Linked DNA regions of Homo sapiens: region 1 is linked to region 2. Evidence: promoter capture Hi-C in human tissues and cell types (Jung and others, 2019). All regions are on one chromosome and are shown on one strand. Each heading gives the region's core, a stretch centred on a gene start or on the middle of the fragment in contact. The rest is flanking DNA. Distances are from core to core; before and after follow the strand shown.

Evidence for each region. The method cuts DNA at HindIII sites, captures the fragments that hold promoters and counts their contacts. A contact is called where the count stands out against the background at its distance.
Region 1: a contact is called between a fragment that was not itself captured here and the fragment with the promoter of ABCA2 in region 2, in 2 of the 25 tissues and cell types used here (dorsolateral prefrontal cortex and lymphoblastoid cells).

The regions. Positions count from the first base shown.
Region 1 is chr9:136,923,281-136,930,172 of GRCh38, forward strand. It overlaps TRAF2 (TNF receptor associated factor 2), which reads left to right. Exons shown (of 11, transcript NM_021138.4): 10 at 572-720; 11 at 2,403-3,327. The coding sequence ends at 2,621. Among named protein-coding and RNA genes, the nearest start is that of FBXW5, 18 kb to the right of the region's middle. The HindIII fragment of the contact is 3,433 bases long and covers 3,438-6,870 here.
Region 2 is chr9:137,024,621-137,032,050 of GRCh38, forward strand. It overlaps ABCA2 (ATP binding cassette subfamily A member 2), which reads right to left and starts at 3,617. Exons shown (of 49, transcript NM_001606.5): 1 at 3,455-3,617. The coding sequence starts at 3,520. It overlaps LINC02908 (long intergenic non-protein coding RNA 2908), which reads left to right and starts at 2,844. Exons shown (of 3, transcript NR_171031.1): 1 at 2,844-3,291; 2 at 7,378-7,430. FUT7 (fucosyltransferase 7) reads right to left here. Exons shown (of 2, transcript NM_004479.4): 1 at 7,359-7,430; 2 at 5,554-7,105. The coding sequence starts at 7,371. The coding sequence ends at 6,090. RefSeq lists a silencer at 3,695-3,874 and an enhancer at 3,758-4,502. The HindIII fragment of the contact is 11,656 bases long and covers 3,437-7,430 here.

The DNA of each region.
Region 1 (6,892 bases), core at 3,904-6,403, 100 kb before region 2:
TCTTAAGTTTTGGGGGTTACATTTGGGATTCTTAGAAATGCTTTTTCTGGCTGGGCACAGTGGCTCACACCTGTAATCCCAGCACTTTGTGAGGCCAACACGTGTGGATCGCCTGAGGGCAGGAGTTTGAGACCATCCTGGCCAACATGGTAAAACCCCATCTCTACTAAAAATACAAAAATTAGCCAGGTGTGGTGTCGAGCGTCTGTAATCTCAGCTACTCAGGAGGCTGAGGCAGGAGAATCGCTTGATCCCAGGAGGTGGAGGTTGCAGTGAGCTGAGATTGCGCCACTGCACTCAGCCTGGGCAACAAGAGTGAGACTCCATCTCAAAAAAAAAAAAAAAAAAAAAAAAACTTTTTCTAAGTACTACCTTTTTTTTTGTAATGAAATTTGTTTTCATTGGAAACTAACTGCATAGTTTGAGGGAAAAAAAACTTTTCTTTGCACCCCAGAACCTGAATGTTTCTTTGTAGGTGTTTTTGTCCCTGGGGGAGGGCAGCCAGGCAGGAAGAGCCCTGCCCCGCCCTTGCTGAGTGTCAGCTCACCAGGCACCCCTCCTGCCTCCCCAGCCTTCTACACCAGCAGGTACGGCTACAAGATGTGTCTGCGTATCTACCTGAACGGCGACGGCACCGGGCGAGGAACACACCTGTCCCTCTTCTTTGTGGTGATGAAGGGCCCGAATGACGCCCTGCTGCGGTGGCCCTTCAACCAGAAGGTGAGGCCGTCCCTGCAGGCTTCGCTAGGGCCGCACCTGGGAGTCCCTCTGGGCAGTGCAGCTTCTGTGGTGCAGGGTTGTGCGGGACAAGGTGGCTTGGGCTCGCTGGACCAGGTGTCTGCAGCAGGCACGTCACCCTGTGATGCTGTGTCACGCGGTGGAGAGCTCTGGCAGTTTGTTGTTTCCATGATTTCTGAGCACTGGTCCGTGACACAAGCACCTGGCTTCCTGACCTGTCAGATAAATATAAATATGACTAAGAAAAAGCACAAGGCCGAGTGGGCGGGGAGTATGTATCCCTGTGATCCCAGCACTTTGGGAGGCTGAGGTGGGAGGATTGCTTGAACCCAGGAGTTTGAGATCAGCCTGGGCAACATAGTGAGAACCCATGTCTACAAAAAAAATAGAAAAATTAGCCGGGCATGGTGGTGTGCACCTGTATTCCCAGCTATTCGGGAGGCTAAGGCAGGAGCATTGCTTGAGCCCAGTAGGTTGAGGCTGCAGTGAGCCGAGATCACGCTACTGCACTGCAGCCTGGGCAACAGAGCAAGAGGGGGCTCTAAATAAATGAACAAAAGGACAAAGCACAAAATAATGCAAGTTTGGGGGTGCCCAGCTTTAGCCCAGGACTCCAGATGTTGATGGGCATCTGGACCAGTAGTTTGAAAACCCTGCCCTGGAGAGAGAGTGCAGAGGAAGGAACACAGCTTCGGAGCCCTCTTCGTCGGAGGTGTCATTTATTTATTTACTTATTGTTAAGACGGAGTCTTGCTCTGTCGCCCAGGCTGGAGTGCAGTGGCATGATCTCGGCTCACTGCAACCTCCCCTCCTGGGTTCAAGCGATTCTCCTGCCTCAGCCTCCTGAGTAGCTGGGACTACAGGCATGCACCACCACGCCCAGCTAATTTTTGTATTTTTAGTAGAGATGGGGTTTCTCCATGTTGGCCAGGCTGGTCTTGATCTCCTGACCTTGTGATCCGCCCACCTTGGCCTCCCAAAGTGCTGGGATTGTAGGCGTGAGCCACTGTGCCTGGCCTATTTTGAAAATCAGAATCTATTATTTTGTGGAATTGAAGATGCAGAGACTAGACTGGAATGAGAGAAGGTCCCTTCCTTTTGCCACAGTTGGCCCAGACTTGCTACTTCCCCCACCCCCTATAGCTAGTGGAGTAGGCAGAGCAGAGTTGGGTGGGGGAGGGGGTGTGGAGGGCCCACAGGCCCTTGTCTGTCCTGGGGCATCCAGGTTCACAGTCCTGACAGAGGCAGACTCAGGTTCTCCCTGAAAAGTGCTCTTCACGAGTGGGCAGTGGGTGCTTCATGATCTCTTTGGCAAGAAAATGTCTTTGCCAGATGTGTTATTTTTTGCATTTTCCTAATAATAATTCAAGTTCAGGAGTGGTAAGCTTTAGTCTAGGACTCCAGATGTCAGTGGACAGGAAAGGCCAGAATGGACACAGATTCCCCAGAGAGAAGCGGAATGCCGGTGGCTGGGGAGGGCTGGGGAGCCCGGGCGCTGTGGCAGGAGCAAGGCCGCCCACCACGTGGTCTCGGCTGGGCCTCAGCCTCTGGCCTGGGTCCTGGGATGGCCTCCTGCTGGTGGCCCTGCCAGTGTCCAGACCCTCGGGAGCCAGAGAGAGACGGCCCACAGACCTGTGTCCCCTCCCTGGGGCTCTCTCCTCCAGGTGACCTTAATGCTGCTCGACCAGAATAACCGGGAGCACGTGATTGACGCCTTCAGGCCCGACGTGACTTCATCCTCTTTTCAGAGGCCAGTCAACGACATGAACATCGCAAGCGGCTGCCCCCTCTTCTGCCCCGTCTCCAAGATGGAGGCAAAGAATTCCTACGTGCGGGACGATGCCATCTTCATCAAGGCCATTGTGGACCTGACAGGGCTCTAACTGCCCCCTACTGGTGTCTGGGGGTTGGGGGCAGCCAGGCACAGCCGGCTCACGGAGGGGCCACCACGCTGGGCCAGGGTCTCACTGTACAAGTGGGCAGGGGCCGCGCTTGGGCGCTTGGGAGGGTGTCGGCCTGCAGCCAAGTTCACTGTCACGGGGGAAGGAGCCACCAGCCAGTCCTCAGATTTCAGAGACTGCGGAGGGGCTTGGCAGACGGTCTTAGCCAAGGGCTGTGGTGGCATTGGCCGAGGGTCTTCGGGTGCTTCCCAGCACAAGCTGCCCTTGCTGTCCTGTGCAGTGAAGGGAGAGGCCCTGGGTGGGGGACACTCAGAGTGGGAGCACATCCCAGCAGTGCCCATGTAGCAGGAGCACAGTGGATGGCCTTGTGTCCCTCGGGCATGACAGGCAGAAACGAGGGCTGCTCCAGGAGAAGGGCCTCCTGCTGGCCAGAGCAAGGAAGGCTGAGCAGCTTGGTTCTCCCCTCTGGCCCCTGGAGAGAAGGGAGCATTCCTAGACCCCTGGGTGCTTGTCTGCACAGAGCTCTGGTCTGTGCCACCTTGGCCAGGCTGGCTGTGGGAGAGGGTCTGGTCCCACGCCGCCTCTGCTCAGACCACTGTGTGGGAGGTGCACAGCACAGCCTGCGGGTAAAGTGTGAGAGCTTGCCATCCAGCTCACGAAGACAGAGTTATTAAACCATTCAAATCTCTGTGGTCAGTGGCATCCATTTGATTCCAGGTTGCCTGCGGCTTCCAGCCTTGGCAGTGGTGACCCTCTGCGGGTCCTCCTGGCCTCTCCTCTCACAGACCCCTCCCCACGGGGTGCCTAGCCCCTGCCTGCTTCTCTAGCTAGCCAGGCTGTGTTCTCTGTTCCTCACCTGATGTAAGCTCCCTCTTCTCGAGCCTTGTTCCCTCTTCTGGAATGTTCTTCCCTGTCCATCTCCTCTCCTGGGCCTCCCCAGGGACTCCTGTGAGAGCAGAATGAGGATGAGCCAGCCCTGGTCCTGCCTTTCTGTGCACAGGCTCCACCGAGCATCCTGGCTGCACCCGGGGGGTCCTGGCCACACCGAGGGTCCTGGCTGCACCGCCCCTGTGGTGTGTTTTTGGGACAGTGCAGGCAGGCGTAGGCACGGCTTCACACTCGGTGTCAGGGCAGCCGTGCTGGGACCTACTGGGCATCTGTATCGGGGTCCAGGATAAAGTGCTGTCCCCTCTCGACGTCTTCACGCACTGCTGTAGTTTGAGAAGTTGACCACAGAAAAGTACAGAAAATAACTCAGGCACGGAGCTGACCGACGGGCATTGTCTGTGTTCCGTGAGTGTGTACTGGGCCTAAAGAGCAAGCATTGCAGAGCCCTGCTGTTCCCTTTCCCGGCCTCACCTCAGCTCCCCAGGCCACGTGGCGGGAATTGAGGCGTTCCGGTTCTCTTTGGGCTTTAGAATTTTGCATCTGTACGTTTCTGTATTCACAAATAAGAATATTGCATTAAAAATGCAGAAACCATCCACTGGGTCAGCTGCAGGTAGCTGGGCTTTTGACTCAGCCTGGCTACTTTTAATGCATCTTGTGCTGGGCACTCTACATGGTGGATTCTGACTGCCGTGTGTGAGTTCCCTAGAGAGCACCTTCCAGTCTCTTCCCGTGTCTTCAGGGTTTGGTGACTGGAGATAGCCAGACCTGCTCTCGTGGGTCTCCTGTCAACCTGGAAGGAGGGTTGGTGGTTTCTAGGCCTCCCCTTTTTAGCAGTTGCCAGCTTGCTTTGCAGAGGGGCTGCATCCGGTCCTTCCACCAGCACCAGGGGGAGGGTTCCCATCACTCCCATCCCTCCCATCCCTGCCCGTGCTTCGTGTTGTTGGAATTGAGATGCTGCAGCGTGCTGTGTGTGAAGTGAAGTGGCATCGCTGTCACGTGCGTTTCTCTGATGACTCGGCGGAGTCAGGCGTCTTTACCACGCTTACCTCTCCCTTGGATTCTCTCCCGTGCGAATTGCCTGTTGATGTCTTTTTCTCATTTTTCTTCTGGTTGTTGGTCTGGGTCTTATTCTGCTGGTTGGTAGGAGTTCCTGATATTCCTGATTACGGATTCTCGGTTGTGTCTTTGAACTGCGTTTCTGTTGCTCCTGATGTGCAGAAGCTTAAGCCTTACACATGATCAGCTGATCTTATCCTTTATGAATGGTGCTATTTCCGACCGACTCAGAACATCCTGACCTTCCCTGAGGCTGGAAACCACTGTCATGTTTTCGTCTAATGATTGTGAAGTTTTGTCTTTAACATACTGGGCTTCTATATTTGGGGATTTGTTTGTATGTGACAGGTTTTGCTGGGTCACTGCAGTTTGTTAAAACAGATTGATTGAGGTCATCTCTTCTCACTTAAAACGAAATGGAACTGTGAAATGAGAGGAATGGACCAAAAAAAAATCCTCCCCCAGGGACAAAGATGGGGAAGAAGCCAACATCCCACAAAGGATTTGAACCCATTTTGGAAGGTGGGAAGTGGGTTGGTGGGTGGCTGCTGAGCAGAAGAGGGCTGAGGGGGAAGCTGGCCACACCGGGAGGCCCTGGCATGGAGCAGAGTCTAAAAGTGGATCAACTGAAAGACGGGGCAGAGCAGCTACCTTGGAGGTCCTTTGCCAGAGCAGCCGGATGGTCCTCCTGGCCCTCACCTCCCTGCAGTGGAGATGGAGGTCTGGAGAACCTGGGGAAGAGCTGAGGACCGCACCCCCCACGCAGTGAGAGCAGCATCGGGCTCCAGGCTGCAGAAGGGGCAGAGGTCTGCACTCGGAACAATTCCCTAGGCACTGGCTGCCACACCAAGAGGCTCCCACGAAGCAGACCAAGGCCCTTGAGGGACAAAATGCTCTGGAGCAGCCCCGTGGGCAGGCCTGGCCCAGCCGCCTCATGGCCTTCTGGGGAAGTGACAGGCTCTGTGCAAACCCACAGAGGTACCATCGTCACTACCTAATTTTGGGACATTTCATCACCCTGCAGAGAAACCTTCCCTTAGCAGTCACTGTTCCCTCCCGCTCAGCCCCTGACAGCCAGCCATAAACCTACCTTCTGTCTCTATAGATTTGCCTACTCAGGACATTCATGTGAATGTGGCCTTTGCTTTTACTCAGCAAGATATTTTCATGGTTCCTGTGTGTTGCAGCATGCATTGGAGTTTCATTCCTTCTAATGGCTGAATAATCTCTTGTATGGATGCACCACACCTTATTTATCCATTCATCCGTTGCTGGACATTTGGGTGGTTTCTACTTTTTGGCTACTCTGAAAATGCTGCTGTGAACATTTGTGAACAAGTTTTTATGGGGACGTGTATTTGTTTTCATTTCTCTTGAATATTTATACCGAGGAGTAGAGCTGCTGGGCCGCTTGTTCAGCTCTTGGAGGAATTGCCGAACTTTTGTGTCACCTTACATCTCCCTCAGGAAGTGTTTTTTTTTTTTTTTTTTTTTTTTGAGACGGAATCTCGTTCTGTCTTCCTGGCTGGAATACAATGGCACAATCTCGGCTCACTGCAGCCTCCGCCTCCCAGGTTCAAGCAATTCTCCTGCCTCAGCTTCCTGAGTAGCTGGGATTACAGCTGTGAGCCACCACGCCTGGCTAATTTTTGTATTTTTAGTAGAGACAGGGCTTTACCATGTTGGCCAGGCTGGTCTCGAACTGCTGACCTCAGGTGATCTGCCCACCTCAGCCTCCCAAAGTGCTGGGATTGCAGGTGTTGCACCTGGCCCCTAATAACATTTTTAAATTTCACGTAGTAAAATTGATTTGTTCTTTTGTTTTGTTCATGGAACATTCAATTCCATGGATGTTCACACCTGTGCAGATGTGGGTAAGCACCATACCTGGGAGACAGGCGAGCCCTGCCATCTCAGAAGACTGTTCCACTTTCCCCATAGTCACCACCCCGACCCGTGGCAGCCACACACCTGTCCTCCACCACTGTAGTTATGTCTTTCCAAGAAGGTCCCATAATGGAGTCCTACAATGCGTGGCTGGGAGCAGCGAGATCTGCAGAACGCCGCTGAGACTGATCAGGATGCGTGCATCAGCATTTGTTTTCTCTCTTTTTTTTTTGTTTTTTTTGGAGTAGTGCTCTATGGATGGATCAGTTTGTCTCGTCACCTGTTGAAGGGTGTTTGGGTTGTTTCTAATGTTTTGCAGGTCTGAATAGAGCTGCTATAAACATTTGTGTACAGGTTGTTGAGCAAGTTTTTATTTCATTAAGGTAGTTAGCAGTGGGGCTGCTGGATCACACAGTAAG
Region 2 (7,430 bases), core at 2,367-4,866:
GCCTACACTTCCCACACTGCCCCGGGTTCACCTTCCTCCCACTTCCTCCCCACCAATACCGGGGCCTGGGGAGATGAGGAGGCCTGGTTGAGAGGCTTGGCCTGCGCCCAGGGCCCTGAGCCTCGGAGAAGACCTGGTAAGGGGTCTAACAGCCCCAGTCCCTGAAGCAAAGGCACCTTTTTTTTTTTTTTTTTTTGAGACGGAGTCTCACTCTGTCACCCAGGCTGGAGCACAGTGGTGCGATCTCAGCTCACTGCAAGCTCCGTCCCCCAAGTTCACACCATTCTCTTGCCTCAGCCTCTCGAGTAGCTGGGACTACAGGCGCCCGCCACCATGCCCAGCTAATTTTTTGTATTTTTAGTAGAGACGGGGTTTCACCGTGTTAGCCAGGATGGTGTCGATCTCCTGACCTCGTGATCCGCCCACCTGGGCGTGAGCCACCACACCTGGCCCAAAGGCACCTCTTTCTGCCCTGTCCCCTCTCCTGACCCGGGGCAGCCAGTCTTGGGCCTTGGAGCTCAGTTTCCCCAGGTCGGCTCCTGCTAACCCAGGCTGGGCACCAAGGTGAGCCCTAGTGGGACCTGCGTGGAGTGAGAAAGAGGTGCTTTGCTCACTTCACCTGAAAACCAAGGACTTTACCGGTTCTTGTGTCCCAGCCCCCAGCTCAGGGAGGAGGAGGAGCTTGAGCCAGCTACCCTCCAGAGAGCCCTCGGCAGACCAGCCCTCTCTGAGACCCACAGGACAGAGGGGCCCTGCCCTCCCTAGCCCGAGGGCGAGCACCCAGCTCGGAGGCATCCTTTGTCCTCATCCCCATCCCAAAACCCTTCAGAGCCCCCAGTGTGCTGTGTGGCCCGGGCCGAGTCCCCGGTCCCTGGGGTGGGGGCGGCTGCTGTGTTTACTGTGCTTGGACAATAGGGCTTTGTGGCCAGGAACATCATGCTGTGGGTGTCCCATGCCCGCCCCAGCCCGTGCCAGCCTCCACCCGCTCCCTGAGCCAGGACGGAGCCCAGGGTTCGCCAAGGCACTGTGGGCACCAACAGGCACCAGGGCGAGGGTGGCTGCAGGAGTGAGGCAATGTCAGAGGCAGGGGTCACAGCACGGGGCGCCAGCCCCGCCCACACCCGGCCTGCTATGGGCACTGTAACTGCAGCAACAGGCCCGGCTGCCTCCCCCATTGCTATAGCAACGGCCTCGCACGAGCTACTGGGAGGAGGAGGAGAGTCCTGGCTGGCAGGCGGCGGGCGCCACAGCAGCATCTGGTTACAGGCGGCAGCACAGGTCTAGCACGCCCTGGGTGCCCCACACAGGTGCCTCCAGGTGGCCCAACCTCCGTCCCTCGAGACCAGCCCAGTGCCTTCACATCGCCTGGAGGCCTAGATGCCTTCTCTGGGCATGACCCCTCCCTGTAGCTCCCGCCTACTGTGTCGGGGGGAGAACAGGTGAGACCCGAGGGTGGCGCTGCCATCTGCCATCCCAGTGACTTCATGACAGTGACCCTGTCCCTGCACCAAGAGCAGCCTGTAGCCCAAGGGTAGACCCAAGTCCAGCTAACTAAGAGGAGATAGGCCACACTCACAGACAGGGAAACTGAGGCAAAGAGCTTGGAGGAGCCTGCTAGCAGCACAGAGGTCCTTGGCACCCACCCTCCAGACCCTGAGCTCTGCCCAGGGTGGAGCTCTGCCCAGGGTGCACCCCTGCCCCAGCAGGGCGCATGGCACACAGGGCAAACCTCTGTCATCCAAGCTTGGCCCCAAGAGTCCAGCTCTGATGTCCAAGATCCTTCCCAGGAAAGTGGGGACCCAGCAGGAGTGTGCCCAGTGTCCAGCCAGCCCCAGCCCCACATCACAAGCCTGGCAAGGACTCAGCCTCCCTGGGGGAAACAGTTCCCCACCTGCTCCAGCCATGGGCTAAGGACCTCCACTGTGGCCCAGTGGGCCTCTGGGAGCCCTGTAGGGTGGGGACCCAAAAAGGTCCTGGGGGGCAGCCCAAACCAGCAGCTGGGAGTCACTCTTGCGGTCAGGACAGTGCACACCTCCCACCTGCTTGCCAGCTGCCCTCATAGGCCACACTCCCTTCCCTGAGCATTGTCCCCACTGGAACAGGGGCCACCATTCCAGCCTCTGCTCCCAAGCCCAGTGGGGACCTTCCTGACAACCACCCCCGGGGACTAATACTAATGCATGCCACATGCCACATCCCTGTTCCCTTGGCCCTGCTCTGCTGTCCCCAGTGACTCAATGCCAGGGGCTGCAGGCCTGATCCATGGGACCCCACTCAGCCAGCTCCAGGTGCCTGGCCAGGGCATGTACCTAACCCAGGCTCCCCGCCAAGGCCAGGTGCCCAGGGGAATTCTGCCAGCCATGGTGATGATGGCCACCCCAGCTGACTGCAGCCTGGGTTTCCTGCAGTGCATGTTGAAAGATAAACAGGCACGGACTGGTGCAGCCCAAGGGGTCCCGCCCGGGCCCTGGCTGGGCAAGAGGATGTCTGCCTTAGGCCCCCACCTGCTCTGAGCCCTGGCCTGGACAATCCCAAGGGCCTTCAGAAACCTAAGCTGGTCCAGGCCTGTGGCCTGGGAGGTGTCCCTTCCCTTCCCAGGCTGGAGCCAAGCTGGCCAGCTGGGGGTATGGCAGGACACCCATATCCCCAAGCCCCTCGCTCCACGAAGGACTTCTGTCCCTGACAGCCATGTGTCCTGCACCCTCAGGTCCACTGGCTGCCCAGGCAGTGCTGGGAAAGCCGGGGTTCACAGCTCCAAACAGTAGACCCAGCCCCCAGAGCAGGTGGGGGGACCAGGAGGCAACAGAGTGGATCAGGCTCGGGGAGAACTGACCCCAAAGGACAAATGGGTGCAGAGATTCAGGCTGGCCAAGGCTGGCACAAGGACATTCCCAGTGGCGAGAGCATGAGCAAGGGTCACGGATGTGCCAGGAGGGGAGGCGGAGAGATGCCTGGGACCAACCTCTATGGCAGGCCGCGGCCCAAGGGCAGGGGAGGGGTGGACGGAGGGAAGGGACAGGGTCTCCTCCGGGACCCCAGGGAGGCTGGGCCCAAGGACCATGGAGCCTCGCAGCTGAATGGAGCCCCCCAGGCCTGCCTTCTGTCCTGGGAACCAGGGCCTCCCTCGAGCCAGAGTCCTGAGCGCCGCTTGCCCCCCGCCCACAGCGGCCCCAGCGAGCGCGCTGCAGAGGGCGCGGGTGCCGTGACTCAGCCGAGCACCGCGATGTCAGCGGACGCGGGACCGGACTGGACACGACCGAGCCACCTCCCCGGAGGCCGCAGCGCCGGCAGGCGAGGGCAGGGCCCGGCGGGGAGGGGGCTCGGGCCCGCGCCGCCCCCAGCGCCCGCCGGGGTCTGCGCGCGCCCGGCCGTCCGCACGTGCGCGCGGGGAGCGCGCCTCTGGCCGCGGTGCGCGCGGCCTCGGGCTGAGGGCGGGCGCGTGGGGTGGGCTCACCGGGCTCCGGCGTTTGAGCGTCACGTTCTTCCAGAGCAGCAGCTGCAGCTGGTGCAGGAAGCCCATGGCGGGGCCACGCTCCGCCGCCTCAGCGCCGCGGCCCGCTCCTCTGCGCGCCCCGCCGGGCCCCGCAGCCCGCCGCGCCGCTGGGCATCGCCCGCGCGGGGGCGGGGCGCTCGGGCGTCCGGGACCCGATCCGCGCTGGCTCCGCCCCGGCGGCCGCGGCGACAGCGACTCTGCCCGCGCCCCGCCCGCCCCCGCTTAAAGGCGCCGCGCTCCGTCCGCGCCCGCCAGGAGGCGCCCGCCGCCCGCGCCGCGCCCGGGACCGACCCGGGCCCGAGACCCTGCGCGCGCCGCCGCCGGGAAGCCTCCGGGCCGCCCCTCGCCGGGCGTCACGCGACGCGCCCACATCGAATCCGAGACCCCGGCTTAGCCTTCGTAGGCCGGGGGACCCTCGGGCGCTGCGCTCTTCTCCCAGAGGCATCCGGCTGCGCCCACCGCGCTGGCGACTCTGCAGAGGCGCCCCAAGCCTTCACTGTCCCCGGGGCGCGCCGAGCGGACGCTGGCGAGGGGCCAGCTCACCCCCGTAAGGGTCTCCTGTGTGCTTTGTAAACCAGCACTTGGAGTCCAGGTGGTGCCCACCTGGAAGGGAGGCAGGGCGGCCAGGTGGGTCCGTCCCGCGATTCCGAGCAGCCAGCGGAAGGGGGGAAACTCGAGGCCCCAGGAACGCTCGCCGTGAGCGGAGCAGGCAGGGGACCGAGGCGGCCCCTGCTGCACGCGGCTCGTTTTTCTCCCCATATTCGGGCGAGTCTGGTCTCTGCACAGGGAGTTCGGGATCAGGCGGTTCTGCGGCTGTGGCTTGGCACCTGCTGGGGCGCCCCGGGAGGTGGGGCAGTTCCTCCGCGTGGCCTGTAGAGAGCGACAGAGGACAGGCTGACCCCATGGGTGGCTCTGACGGCGCTTCCCAGACTCAGTTTCCCCCCTGTGAATGGGGTGGAGTAGCGCTGTGTGGTGTCCAGTGTCAGGGCGCACATAGAAGGCGCATCCTCAAGTGAATGAAGACCTCCGAGGCCACAGCTCCCCACTCCTCCCAGCTCCTTTGCAGCAGGAAGGTGACCCTGGGCTAGTGAGTGAGGGATCAGCTTCCCACCCCAGCCCGCAGCCTCAAGGCACTTGCTTTTCTCTGCTCAGTCCACAGGGCTGGGTCAGGGCAGGAAGCTACCAGCAGGTCTTTCCCACAAGCCACAGCCATGGGTGAGGGGGGCTTCCTGCCCTCAACCTGCCCACCCCTACCTGGGGTAGGGACAAGCCCTGTGCCCCAGCCCCGGGGGCTTAGCCTGTTGGGGCCCTGGTCAGCACCACCCGTGGGTTGGCCTCTCTCCTCCTCGCCCCACTCTCCACCGTCCACTACAGGGGCTCCCTGGCTGCAGCCGCATCCCCAGTGCCTCCCCAGCACTGGCCACCAGAGGGAGCTACAAGGCACAGGTCAGACCCTGTCACCCCAGACACCCTCCAGCCTGCGGGCCTGGGAGATGGGCGATTTCAGCCTGGCCAGGCCTCTGACGTCCGTTCCCTACTCTTCCCCAACCTTGGCCTGTTTTGGTTTTTGTTTTGAGACAGGGTCTCATTCTGTTGCCCAGGCTGGAGTGCTGTGGTGTGATCACGGCTCACTGAAGCTTCAACCTCCTGGGCTCAAGCCATCCTCTCACCTCAGTATCCCAAGTAGCTGAGACCACAAGCGTGAGCCACCACGCCCTGCTAATTCTTGTATTTTTGGTAGAGATGAGATTTCACTACACTGCCCAGGCTGGTCTCGAACTCCTGGGCTCATCGCCTTGGCCTTTTGGGGGACACAGAAGGCTCTCTGATAAGGGGCCGTCTGGCGGAGGCTGTAGGAACTGGGGTAGCCAGTGGGCAGCCCGGCACAGGGAGGGCTCTCAGGCGGAGGGTGAGCAAAGGCCCAGAAGTCAGGCGACAGGACCCCCCGTGGGGAACAAGCAGCCCCATGGCCGTGGGGGCGACATGTCAGGGGAGGGCAGATGCAGGCTCTGTGGCCCTGCACGGAGGTGACCCATGAGACACTGGCCAGACCCACGAGGCACTGCTCAGATGTTTATTGTCCACCGCCCTCCCTCCCTGAGCCCAGAACAAGCTGGTTTGCTCCCCGTGGTCTCCTGGGCCCCGCCCCAGCCTACACACAGGGACCTCAGAACTATGGACGTGGCAGGGACCCGTGCCTGTGTCTCGGGGACCACAGGGCCTCTGCTACCGAGGAAGCTCGGGGTCCCAGGTTTGGCCCCCACAAACTTCAGGCTGGGGTGCCCCCCAGCCCCAAGGGCCCTGCCTTTCACCCTCTTCCAGCCAGGCCTTCACCCACCCAAGATTTGTTCAGGGTGGGGAGGGTCCTCGGCAGCCTTTCCCCTCCCGTCTGCCGCAGCAGGCACCCGTTACCTCCCTCCCACTCTCACCTCCTCTGCATGCTCCAGTGCCCACCTGCACCCCCCACCCCTGCTTCCTGACCTCTGTGCCCAGCCTCCCGTTAGCCCGCTGCTTGCCGGTAAGGGCCGGATGCCTGGTGGTTTGATTTCGACACCCAGCCCTTCCACCCACACCCACCTCCCCCGGCCAGCGGATCTCAGGCCTGAAACCAACCCTCAAGGTCCTCATAGACTTGGCTGCGGGGTAGGTGTGGGTAGCGGTCACAGATGGCACAGAAACGTTCCCGCCAGTCGGTGAACAGTCGCACGCGGAGCCTGTCACGCCAGGCAAAGAAGCGTTGGTATCGGCTCTCATTCATGCCAGTGAGGAAAGCCGCCAGCTCTCGGGCTGAGCCAAAGTCATCCACATGCACGAAGGCGTCAGCCGGCACGAAGGCCTCATAGGTGGCCCGTGGGGGCCCCAGCACCACTGGCACAGTGCCAGCCACCAGTGCGTTGCGCCAGAATTTCTCCGTAATGTAGTCGCGGTGCTGAGAGTTCTCAAAGGACAGGTAGAAGCGGTACTGGGCCACGGTGGGCACCAGGCAGCTGGCGCACAGTGGCCGTCCATTGGCACGGCCAAAGACATCCACCCGCAGATGAGGCGCCAGCTGCCGGTACAGCCTGGCACGCAGCTGCCGCTCCTGGAAGTTGCTGACCACCCAGGCGGCCACCCTGCTCTTGGCTGGCAGCGGTGGCGAGGGCCCCCAGTGGGGCTCCAGGCGGCCATAGGGCACAAAGATGTCCGAGTCGCGCCGGTAGCTCAGCACCCAGTTGAAGATGCCTCGGAGGTGGCTGAGGCCGTGGGTGTGGCTAGGAGACTCCATGGAGGCCCACACCCAGGGCTGCCCTCGCGGCCGCTGGGCCAGGGGCAGGTGGGACCGCCGGGTCTGCAGCTCGCGGTGGTGGAAGACCACGGCGTCGGCGCTGGCCAGCAGGCTTCGGTTGGCACTCAGGTGGCAGCGGGCGATGCCGTAGCGGGTGCAGGTGTCGCTGGGCAGCTCTGGGGGCTGGTCAGTGAAGGGCCAGTGCCAGACAAGGATGGTGATCGTGGGCTGGGGTGCCGGGGTACCCCGAGGGGCTGACCCCAGCAGCCACAGGAGCCAGAGGGCAGCGAGCAGAGCCACCCCGGCCAGGACCCCCAAGCCTCGCAGCCTCCGGGTGGGGCCGTGCCCTGCAGCAGCACGAGGGAGGGGAGGCTCTGTCACTTGGGCTCAGGGACATCCACACGCCCCACTCAGCGCCAACCCCGTCCTCCCCTCCCATGGGCTCAGGGACACCCACATGCCCCACTCAGCGCCACCCCCGTCCTCCCCTCCCATGGGCTCAGGGACACCGACATGCCCCACTCAGCGCCACCCCCGTCCTCCCCTCCCAGGTTGCCTAGCTGTCCCCAGCTTGGGCCTCCCCGAGGGCCAGACACTCACCAGCATTATTCATCCACAGTCTCCCAGGATCAGTCAGCCAAGAGACCCGAGATTCTCAAATCACGGCAGCCG